Linked DNA regions of Homo sapiens: region 1 is linked to region 2. Evidence: promoter capture Hi-C in 16 types of primary human blood cells and fetal thymus (Javierre and others, 2016). All regions are on one chromosome and are shown on one strand. Each heading gives the region's core, a stretch centred on a gene start or on the middle of the fragment in contact. The rest is flanking DNA. Distances are from core to core; before and after follow the strand shown.

The links. Contacts are between HindIII fragments. The CHiCAGO score rates a contact against its expected background, and 5 or more counts as called.
Region 1: a fragment that was not itself captured here is called in contact with the fragment with the promoter of TBC1D1 in region 2 in 1 of 17 cell types (M2 macrophages); the score reaches 5.8 in M2 macrophages.

Annotation. Positions count from the first base shown.
Region 1 is chr4:38,733,544-38,739,128 of GRCh38, forward strand. No RefSeq gene overlaps it. Among named protein-coding and RNA genes, the nearest start is that of TLR10, 47 kb to the right of the region's middle. The HindIII fragment of the contact is 699 bases long and covers 1,613-2,311 here.
Region 2 is chr4:37,887,189-37,893,364 of GRCh38, forward strand. It overlaps TBC1D1 (TBC1 domain family member 1), which reads left to right and starts at 3,896. Exons shown (of 22, transcript NM_001396959.1): 1 at 3,896-4,160. RefSeq lists silencers at 3,415-3,604, 3,925-4,424, 5,454-5,503 and enhancers at 5,204-5,333, 5,764-6,043. The HindIII fragment of the contact is 15,185 bases long and covers 1-6,176 here.

The sequences.
Region 1 (5,585 bases), core at 712-3,211, 840 kb after region 2:
TGATGGTGATGGTGATGGTGTTGGTGGTGATGGTGATGATGGTGGTGGTGGTCATCGTGGTGGTTTTGGTGGTAGTGGAGGTGGTGATGGTGGCAGTGGTGGTGATAGTGATGGTGCTGGTCGTGGTGGTGATGGTGTTGATGGTGGTGGTGGTGATGGTGTTGATGGTGGTAGTGGTGATGGTCCTGGTGGTGATGGTGATGATGGTGGTGGTGGTAGTGGTGATCCTGGTGGTTGTGGTGGTAGCGGTGATGGTGTTGGTGGTGTTGGTGGTGTTGATGATGTTGTTGTTGGTGGCAATGGTGGTGGTAGTGGTGTTGGTGGTGGTGATGGTGTTGGTGGTGATGGTGATAATGATGGTGGTGGTGGTGACCATGGTGGTTGTGGTGGTAATGGAGGTGGTGATGGTGGTAGTGGTGGTGATAGTGATGGTGCTGGTGGTGTTGTTGGTAGTGGTGATGGTATTGGTGGTGGCAGTGGTGATGGTCCTGGTGGTAATGGTGATGATGGTGGTGGTGGTAGTGGTGATCATGGTAGTTGTGGTGGTAGTGGTGATGGTAGTGGTGATGGTGGTGGTGGCAGTGGTAGTGATGGTGATGATGGTAGTGCTGGTGGTGGTGGTGATGGTGGCCTGGTGGTGGTGGTGGAGCTGGTGGTGATGGTGGTGGTGGCAGTGGTGATGGTGGTGGTAGAGGTGGTGGTGATGGTGGTGGAGGTGGTGGTGCTGGTAATCGTGGTGGTGGTGGCGGTGATGGCAGTGGTGGCGGTGGTAGTAGAGGTGGTGGTGGTGGTAGAGGTAGTGGTGATGGTGATGGTGGTAGATGTGGTGGTGGTGGTGGTATATCTACATGATGCAGCAGGCTAGTAGAAGATCCCAAAAAGTTGATTTCAAGAGTAGCTGGTGGTTGTGGTAGAACCAGCTTTGCCATTCTTTTGCCAGGAAAAACTTGTGCTTGGCATCACTACTTGTGGCACGCCTCTTCCGAGCCCTAGACTAAGTGCCCTCTCTGAGCCTCCATAGCACCCTGTAGCACTCACTCCTACCATAGTGTCTGTCGCTCTCTTGTCTGACCTCTCAGTATAAAGGAAGCTCGATGAGAGTGAGTAAAGCTTTTCCTTTTCACTTCTGCATCTCTAGTTCTCAATACATTGCCTGGCACGAAGTTGGCACACTGTAAATACTTGTTGCATGGATGAATGGATAAGCAGACAGGTGGACACATGCATGAATGAATGAAAAAATGAATAAGTGAGTAAATAAATAAAAAAGAGTCAGAGGTCTGCAAGCCTGGAACTGGGAATTATTCCTACCTGAGGAGCTCCAGAGAGCAAGAGCAAGAACTGGGGATTTACCATCTGCTGGGGTTTGCCTCCTGGTAGAATGATGGATCAGCAGCAATGGCACTTTATCATAGCCCAAGGACATAAAGCATTCTGATTCAGGAAGCCTCTTGAGACTGAAGAACCTCCTAGCTGAGAAGATATTTCTCCAAGGCAGCCCTAGCCAGATGGGAAGTTATTTTGGATGAAGTCACCCTGTGGTAGTTGAAAAACACAATACGGTCAACACCTACTCTGTGATGACAGCATGCATCTTCCCTCTAGTGTTCAAAGCTTACTTTGGCCTTATGAAGTAGGCATGATTATTCTATAAAGAAGAAGGCTGCACCCAAAGATGCGGAGTGGCTGGCTAGTAAGTACAGAGTCAGGATTCAAACCAGCTCTGTTGGCTCCAGTATCCCCTGTGGCTACTTGGGAAAGCAGGATTGATGAAAAAGGGAAGAAATTCTGTTGGTTAGAGAAACACTCACTGCTGTAGCAAACTCTGAAATTTGTAATTGCTCCAATAATAGACGTGTATTTCTCATGTAGAGTCTCAAATGGGATTCCTGGTGAGCAGATGGGCCTTCTCCAAGAAGAGATTCAGGAACCTGTGCTCCCTCCATCCTGTGGTACCATCAACTTCACATGTGACTTCAAGCTGCCACACCCATCTGCTTCGAACTGGCAGCAGGGAAGAGCCTGGGGGAATGGGAGGTTTTGTGGATCAGATGTAGAGGTGGCACACGTCACTTCTAATCACCCTTTGGCTGTAACTCAATTACTTGGCCAGTGCTTACCAGCGATGTAACTTCAACAGAGCCTGCAAAATACAGTGCAGCTCTGTGCCAGGAGAAAGGAGGCAATGAGTTTGGTGAAGATAGGCAATCTCCACCACAACCCATACCCAACAACTGGGGACAGCAGTGAGATTCCAGGACAGCAAAAGCCCAGCTCAGCCCTCCACTAGGGTATAATAGCCCTGTAGGTAAGCTTGGAGGAAGTCAAAATTTGAAGCTCTATCTTGGGCTGCACACATGCCTAAAGCCTTGTTTATTGTATCCCCTTCTTTGGGGAACTGTTCCTCTCGAGCTTCAATAATGCCAATCCTAGTATTCTTAGACCCCTAGCTAGAGGTAAGCATATGACTCAGGTTTAAGGGTGGGCATTCAGGGATCAGTTTAGGGAAGGTCACGTGATCCTAGAAGAGCCTATTGGCATGCTTCCCTAACCAATCAAGAACGCTTTGCTCCTAATTGTCTGGTTATAGGGCTGCAAGGATGGAAGTGAGGAGTGGTCTGACATCATGCCTGCACCCTCAATGGAGAAAGCCAGAAGAAAGAAGGCAGCATGTAGAAAAGAGCTGAGAAAGAAAGAGAGAAATGACAGCAATGACAGTGTTCAAGTCCCTGGCTCTTTAAGGCTAGGCTACTCCTCCTTTGCTTTTTTTTTTTTTTTTTTTTGGACAGAGTCTCACTCTGTGCCCAGGCTAGAGTGCAGTGACGCAATCTCGGTTCACTGAAACCTCCACCTCTGGGGTTCAAGCGATTATCCTGCCTCAGCCTCCTGAGTAGCTGGGACTACAAGTATGCACCACCAAGTCCAGCTAATTTTTGTACTTTTAATAGAAATGGGATTTCCCATGTTGGCCAGGCTGGTCTCGAACTCCTGACCTCAAGTGACCCACCCACCTCAGCCTCCCACAGTGCTGGGATTACAGGCAGGAGCCACCGCACCCAGCCACCCCTGCCATTTCTATGGTTTGATTATATAACTCAATATATTCCCTCTTTGCTTAATCTAGTTCAAGTTGAGTCACTTGCAATCCTAAGATTTATGAGTTAACACATCCAACATGCCAGACACCAAGAGATTCTAGCAGGTAAATGGGCTTCAACAACAAATCCATATCAACTCCCACAATGCTTTTGTCCAGTGTTAGCTCTGCTCACGTGTATTCTCTCTCTGTCTCTCTCTTTCTCTCTCTCTCACACACACAAACCCTCTTGCACACTGGGAGTCCCCCCCAATGATACATTGAAATTCTAATTCCCAGTAACTCAGAATGTGACCTTCTTTGGAAATAGGTCCATTACAGAGGTCATCATGTTGAAACGAAGTCATTATGGTAGGCTTAATCTGGTGTGACTTATGAAAGAGAGAAATTCAGACACAAAGACACGCACACACAGAGGGAAGATGATGTGACGAGACATCATCAGGGAAATGGACAATGACACGTGAAGATGAAGGCAGAGACTGGGATGAAAAGCAGTAGGTATTTGTCTTTGTAAGTTCTCTGGAAAGGCCTTGAGAAATTTCATTTCTCTCGTCATACTGTGTATGTACAGGTATGTGTATATGTATGTGTACGTATATAAACATTCTGTGTGGGAAAATGAGTAGAAGAAGATTAAAGCAATCTAGTGTACAGATGGTGTGTGTGTGTGTGTATGTGTGTTTTGGACATGGGGAAGAAGGTTTCCATAACAATGGTAATACTAATTTCCATTTATTATTATCTGCTTTATGACAGATATTATTCTTTGTAAATTTTTTTTTCTTTCTTCTTTTACAAGATCCTACAGCTAGCATGTCAGATATTACTCTTGGGCATAATATAGACATGATTTCATTTAGTTCCAGTAAGGAGGAGTGTGTCTTGATTTGAGGTCAGTTTGGCCGGGCGCGGTGGCTCACGCCTATAATCCCAGCACTTTGGGAGGCTGAGGCGGGCGGATCACAAAGTCAGGAGATCGAGACCATCCTGGCCAACATGGTGAAACCCCGTCTCTACTAAAATACAAAAAAAAAAAAAAAAAAAAATTAGCCAGGCGTGATGGCACGCGCCTATAGTCCCAGCTACTCAGGAGGCTGAGGCAGGGGAATAGCTTGAACCTGGGAGGCGGAGGTTGCAGTGAGCCAAGATCACGCCACTGCACTCCAGCCTAGGCGACAGAGCAAGAATCCATCTCAAAAAAAAAAAAAAAAAAAGAAGTCCGTTCATACCTGAGTTTGAATCTCAGTTCTTCTGTTTATTAGCTATCTGGCCTGAGTGAGATTACTTAACTTCCATGAGCCCTATTTTCTCTATGGAATAATAATGTCTATTCCATGGAATTTCAGTAAAATTAATGCAATAATATATATAAATTGGAACCAACCCAAATGTCTATCAGTGACAGACTGGATTAAGAAAATGTGGCACATATACACCATGGAATACTATGCAGCCATAAAAAAGGATGAGTTCATGTCCTTTATAGGGACATGGATGAAGCTGGAAACCATCATTCTGAGCAAACTATCGCAAGGACAGAAAACCAAACACCATTCCCACTCATAGATGGGAATTGAACAATGAGAACACATGGACAGAGGGTAGGGAACATCACACACCGGGGCCTTCCAGGGGGTGGGGCGAGGGGGGAGGGATAGCATTAGGAGATATACCTAATGTAAATGACAAGTTAACGGGTGCAGCACACCAACATGGCACATGTATACATATGTAACAAACCTGCACGTTGTGCACATGTACCCTGGAACTTAAAGTGAAATAATAAAAAAAAAAATAAAAATATAAATAAAATAAAAATAAATTGGGTGGCCTATAGGAAGGTCCCTAGTAAGTGTTTGATAGTATCATTCATCTTCAGAATCACCCTCTATGTCAGGCATTTATAATTCCCATTTCTCAAATAAGGAAACGAAGTCCCACCCAACTAGTAAGTGACAAAGAACTAAATTAGATGCAGATCTCCCTGGTCAAGCCAAGGTCTCTCTCCTACGCAATCCTCCTTGACAAAGAAAAGATGGAAAGGGCAATAATTTGTCAGTTACAACACAGTCATGTTTTAGGTAAATTTGAGTTACATGTATTTGAAATTGTGTAATACAGAACATTTATAAGGTCTCATTTTGTGCTCAAAATGAGAAATGGTGCAAATCCCCCAAATTAAAATAAAATCAAGAATTGCTCATGTCAAAGCTGCTCAGACAAGTGAATTGTAAACGTGCCACTTCAGTTCTAAAACAGAAATCCTCTCTTCCTTTTGCAGATATCTCATAGACTACGCTGTTGTTCGCATAGCTCAGAACTCCAAGTGATTTTGTTGACAATTGAAATGTTGTTATAATTGAAAATACTTTGTTAACATCCTATGGCCATGTCATGTGAGCATTCATAATGTGATGGCACAGAAAAGCACCAGAAGCAGTGCATTTATTCTGCACTTTAGATGTCATAAAAAGGCTTTGCAGAA
Region 2 (6,176 bases), core at 2,646-5,145:
CTAACTAATATGAGCATTTAAATACCTAACTGATGGATTTAATGATGATTAATTTTGTTAAAGGTCTTCTTTCTACATCAACGAAAGATTTTAATTCTAGATGTATATATGGTTCCCATGGTTCCCTTAACTTTTTAAAAGTAAAGTGGCCTCTGTTTTCTTTCAGGCTCTGAGCTTTTCATGTGATTTAATAGCATCGATGGTTCACAATTTTCTAGAGCTCTGCAGCCATCTTAAAGCTGATATTAATGTTCCTGGCTTTTGGCAATGAATAACTAATTATGCTGCAAATAGCTAAATTAGGAAAGAGTCTATGGGAGAAGCCCTAAAAGAATGATCCATGGCAGGATTTTGGGAAGAGCTGGAGGTGCGGAAGTTGTCCAGACAGGAAAAGTGCAGCAGCCATGATGGTCGGTGCCTTCGCATCAGGGTTTTCACTCGCTGAGCCAATGGGTCCATAGCTGATGTCAGCTAAATGCCCATGGTGGTGAAGAGCTCCACACTCCTTGTGTTCCTGGGTCATACTCCGTCAGAAGAATCAGAAGCTGAAGCAGAATCATTGGAGCATTTGGCCCTATTCTCTGCTTGCTTTTGTTATCGGTGACTTAAAGAGGGACCAACAGAACACCTTCCTGGGCCTTGAGGGAGCTCTCTGTTGCCATCACCAAGGCCCCATTGGCCCACGCTTCTACCATGGTGTGTACCAGCTCTCCTGGGAGTCACGTGGCCACATATCAAGGGGAAGGAGCTACTTCCCTCCTAGAGCAATGGCACCTGCAGGTAAGAGCTGAGTGGTGAGCTCTTACTTCTGCACTCTGCACTGGGCCAGTATGGATCTCCCCAACCACATTTGACAGTCTTCATCCTGCCATACCAGGTATCACCATCTGCTTCAAAGTCCCCTTTACTATTTGTTCTACAACTGCTAGAAAACCTAAGGCCAAATAGATTGATAGCAAGCTGTCCCCTAATTTCTAAGATAATGCTGTATAGATTTTAAAAAGAATTTCAACAATCCTTATTGCATACTATAGAGGGAGTTCTGTTTCCCAGAAGTTGAAAGTATGGTAAAATCCCTCCTCATCATTCTTAGGGTGCTAGCTGTCCTGGGAGCTGGAAAAGTGATGCAGAAATTGCTGCTTCTCACAAGGCCATGACCTCTCCCTAACCTAGGTAAGGGTCAAGGCAAATGGTCATTTGCCACTAAATTATAAATCTCTGAGCTGGAACTTGCTGGATGTCAATGCTTTGAGAGATATGAGGCCTGGGCCTGCATCTGGGCCCCACCCATCGACTTCCTACATCTGTATTCTGGTTAGGCACCCCGCCTGGCTGCCTACCTGTACTTAAGCCTTCCTGTACTCTGGGACTAGGGGTAAGGGTGAAGAGAGGGTAGAGGAGGTGAGCAAGTGAGGGAAAGAAAAGGTAGTGGAGTGGCAGGATGGGAGGGGGCTCTAGCCAGGATGTTCTGTAAGCAGAGCCCAGCAAATTATCTCTGTTCCCCTTGGCCTGACCCCTTTTCCCAGGAGCAGGGCCTGGCAAGCAGGGTTGTTAGGTAACAGTTTCAACCATCCTCTGGTGGGTTACATACAAAAAGCAGTTTACAGTGTCAATGAAATGAATGCTAGTGTACCTTTCTCGACCTCCTAGCACTCTGGAGGTAAATGTGTGCAGCAGGTCACTGCAGACAGGGAGAGAGAGTTCTACAACAGAGTTGAAGGTAAAAACATGAAATAATTTGGGATATGACCCAAGTGATAACAATATGGTTTAACTGGTTTACCTGGTCTTGTAACCTAAAGAATAATTTCCATAACCCAGTTAACATTCTACTCATTACAGTATTTATGACTGTATATTTCTTAAAAAAGAGTTGAGGCTATGCACACAAATAACTACTCAATGACAAAGAATGAGCTGAGGGCTACACAGTGGCCAGAGAGCAAGTATATTATAAAGGGCTTTGGATCTTGGAGATTCCAGCACCCACTAACCCTGTAGGCACTAACCTCTTACTTTTCTCCTTAGTCAAATGGATTTAACAATCTTTGCCCTGCAGAGTTTTTGAGCAAATTAGCAACAATATATAAGGACAGTATCTAGCACAATACCCCAAATCGACTAACTCCTCCGTAAAGAATAGCTACCACTATTGTGAGAGTTTTAAGTCAAGCTGTGAATAAAACTCTTGGGTCCACTTAAAAATACCTCCCCTGGATGTAAGCATCCAGGGAAATCAGGGAATGCCATAAGACAGCCCTAATCTAAAAGCCTACAAGAAGCTCAGTGGGCTTCAAGGAAGACACTGCTCTTGGTACGATGAGGAAACCTGGCCCTCTATTTGCCTCCTGGGCCACAGTAATATTGATAATAGCTGCTGCTTTTAGTTGAGGACCATGTACGTCTGTGTCACTGCACTGGCCACTTTACTTACACTTTCCTGCTTTGTCCTCACAAAGATCCTGTAAGGTGTGTATTGGTCCCATTTAGCAGGTAAGACAATGAAGACCAGAGGTCCAGCACCTTGCCTAAACCACACCTGCTGGGATTTGGATTCAAGTCCAACCGTACAGCTCAAACGCTCAGCCACTTCCCTAAAGTCCACCCCCAGCTACATTAAGTAAAAAAATCCAGAAAGATGCCACCTGGGGGTCTGGAACTGCCTCCTCCGAGCACCCGGCTCTCCCCTCCCTGCGGACTCTTCTCTGGAGAGGATGTGATGCTTCTTACTTTTCTCAGATCCCTCTCCCCACCCTGCGAGTGACGTTGCGCCTCTGTGCCTGGTGGGATAGGGATCTGGGAGCTTCGCCTGTTTTTTGCACACTGCCATCCCCTAGTCTTAGGGAGCGAGCTCTGTCCCGCTTTTCACATCTCCGCGTCTTTCCTTGCACTCTACATCACCGCTGGGAATGTCCCCAGACCTGATCGGGGCATGCACACTGGGGTGTGCGTGTGCGTGTGGTGTGTGTTCCTGCGCGTGTGCCGGGCTCGCGGGGCAGGAAAAAGCGCCTAATCCAGGCTCTGCGTCACTCCCGCAATTGGTTAGAAATGGAGTTTCCTGGTGTTTAATCCCGGGAGGGCACTTCGCCTTCGTTGTTTCCCAGAGTCCCTGATTTTCCTGCCTCGCATGCCAGCGCCCCATAGGGCATCCGTGCCTCAGTTCACCTCTTGCCATCCTCCAAGGACGGGGAGAAGGGGTAAGGCGGGGGAGAGCAAGGTGGCTTGGTCGCCCCCGGCCCCCGCCCCCCATGTTGTGTGCAGTTTCCACCACGTCTGTTTCGGAGGGAGAAGAGGAGGGTGCAGATGAGGCGAGGCGCCTTCGGGAGCGCGGAGAGCGGGCAGGCAGTGCCACCTGCTGAGAGCCACTCAGGCCGAGCAAGCGGCGGGCAGTGCCACCTGCTATAAATAGGCCGCCAAGGACAGGGTGTGCGACTGTACATCCCGCCACGAGGGCCTGCATCACGCGCGGGGCCCCGCGCCCCCGGCTCCCCAGGGAAACGCTGTGCCCAGATCCTGCGCAGGGGTCTGGATGGGGCGGCGGCCCGAGTACTTCCCCCCTATTCCCCCCACAGACACTGGCTGAGGATGGCCCGCGGGCTTGGGGGCGGGGGGTGGCAAGGAGGGGAGGGAGGCCGCGGCGGACCCGCAGTGCAGCAGCTGTTGCTCGCGTGTGACTCGCCCGTCCGGGCCGTGCTGCCCAGGCACAGTCACACGGCGCAGTGGGGAGGAGGAGGACACCGAGTCCCCCTCCCAGCTCCCCGGGGACCGAGTGGGGAGATCCCGGCTCCTGTCTTCCCCTCGCCTCCAGCGCGCTCGCCCAGGCTGGGAGGAGGAAACCAGAGCCGCGCGCAGACACCTCCTCCTTCTCCTCCTCTTCTTCCTCCTCCTCCTCCTCCTCCTCTTCGGCTGCTGCTCCTGGTGCCGCCACCGTCCGCCGGTGCCTGTTGCTGCCGCCGCCGCGGGACCTGCTGTGTCCTCAGCTGGGTGGAGAAGAGGCGGGCGCCGAGCCGAGGGGAGCCCCCTCCCCGTCCCCCCGCGGCGGGAAGAGCGCAGCCAGCCGGGTGCGATGGACTCCCCGCCCGCCCAGGCCGTCCCCAGGATGCCCCCAAGCACCTGCGCGTCCCGGCCCGGCCCCGGGCTCTGAGCGCGCCGCGGCACAGGTAAGGCGCTTCCTGGGGCTTCGTCCTGGCCACCCTGCTGGCTCCTCTCGGGGCGTCGCGGCCGCCCCCTCCCGCAGCACGCCCCTGCCCCGCCTGGCCGCGGAGGGGAAGGCATCTGGCCGCCCACGGACGCGAGGCCAGGGTCTCTCGGGGGAGGAAGTTCATTGCCATCTCGTTGCCCCCCTTACCCCCCCACCCCCGCCGCCCTTGGACGAAAGCGAAACCTTAATGTTGCTAGCGACCCGAGAGCTCCGCCGGCTTCTCCCCCAACCCCCGCCAGCTCACTGGTCCGCGCATCTCTCCCCTCCCCCCTCCCGCCAATTATCCTAGCGTGTTTGCAAGGCGACCAGATTGGAAAGAGTGTGGTCAGAGTGACCCCAAGCCACGCTTTAAAAGTTCAGGGTACTTTGCAGTAGTAACTTTGGCAGCTCCACCAGTGCGCGCAACATTTCTTTCTATGGGTACATCCTGTACCAGTCATTTTGAAACCCTGCTTCATTGTTTCTAGCCGCTTCCTGATGGCTCTGTGATTATGAGACCCCCCTCAAACTTCACCAGGCATTAAGGTTTTGTTTTTGCTTTTTTTTCAGAGAGGTATCATTTCGTTTGAAATCCACCTAGATGTGGCTTTTCCTGTTTTGATTTTACTTAACATAGCTTATTCTCTGGAAGTTGCTTTAAAAAGAAATTGAAAGTGATGGTTGTTCCTTCCACCAAACAGTTTAATTTTCAGGGTGCCTCATATTAATGGATATGTTTTCCCTTCATAGATTTCTCATTGTTTCCCTTATGATGGGATGATTTCATTTATTAATAAAATCAGACTTTGAAAGAGCATTTAAAAATGACCTGGTTTAAATAGGTCACACCCAAGAAACTCAGCTATCTGTACAAGTTCAAACTTCTAAACTTTTTCAATGAGCTAGGGGTGGTGGCACCCACCTGTAGTCCCAGCTACTTGGGAGGCTGAGGCAGGAGGATCACTTGAGCCCAGGAGTTCGAGGCCATAGTGAGCTATGACTGTGCCACCTCACTGGAGCCTGGGTGACAAAGTGAGATCCCATCTCTTAAAAAAAAAGAGTTTAGGGGACATTTTCTGAAGTGAACACAAGTAGAGCATTCTAACACTATTGAGTGCAAGGAGACCTGGAAGGGACTAAGTGGTTCAAAGCAGGAAATAAAATCATCAGGTGATAATTAAAATAATTTCTTTCCTGTGGATTTGTCCAGCCATTTGCAAACCAGGAGAATAGGAAAAAAAATCACTAGTGTAGTTATAAATTATTACATTACGTTTTCAAAGGAAAATTTTGCAAATGCGTCTCCTTGTCATAGTCTATTGTTATCTACCCCACTGAGAGTGCTGGGGCTTCCCCTTTTCACCACGACAGCATTTCTGGTTGGGTGGCAGTCATGCAGTGTTGACCTGGTGTCCCATAAGGCACAGTTTGTCAAAACACTAGTGGGTATTAGGAGGAAACGTGCAACTCTGAAGCAACAGAGCTTGCCCCTTCTTCCTCATTATCCAGCTGGTGATAATCCCTGTCCCCCACTTCCCTAGAAGACAGCTTTGACCAGGAAGGCTGCAATGACAATGAGATGTACCCCTATGCAGAGCCAGATGTGGGCGGGTGGCTTTTTTGTGGTCCAGATCTTCTAGGATCTTCTAGGATGTAACCCTGGCAAGCAGTGGGGAGCCTGAATCAAGCAGCATGGCTGTTACCTCTTCTGTGTTCACAGCAGCATCTTCAGTTGTCTTGGTGCCTGGAGCAGGCACCACAGCTGCCTGCTCTGTTGGCCACCAGCTTTCTAGAGTAGATGGTAGGGAGGAGAGCAAGGGGCTCAAGAGGATTCTGTCTTTGAACATGCTTTTAATTTGATCTGACAGAATGGCAGCTCCCTGAAGTCCTTCCTACTCTCTCCACAGCATTTCTCTGTAGGTCCCCAGTTTTTGCTCTTTTCAGATTCCCAGAGGACTGAAAATGTATCACGGCCCATTTGGGGACTTCCTGTATA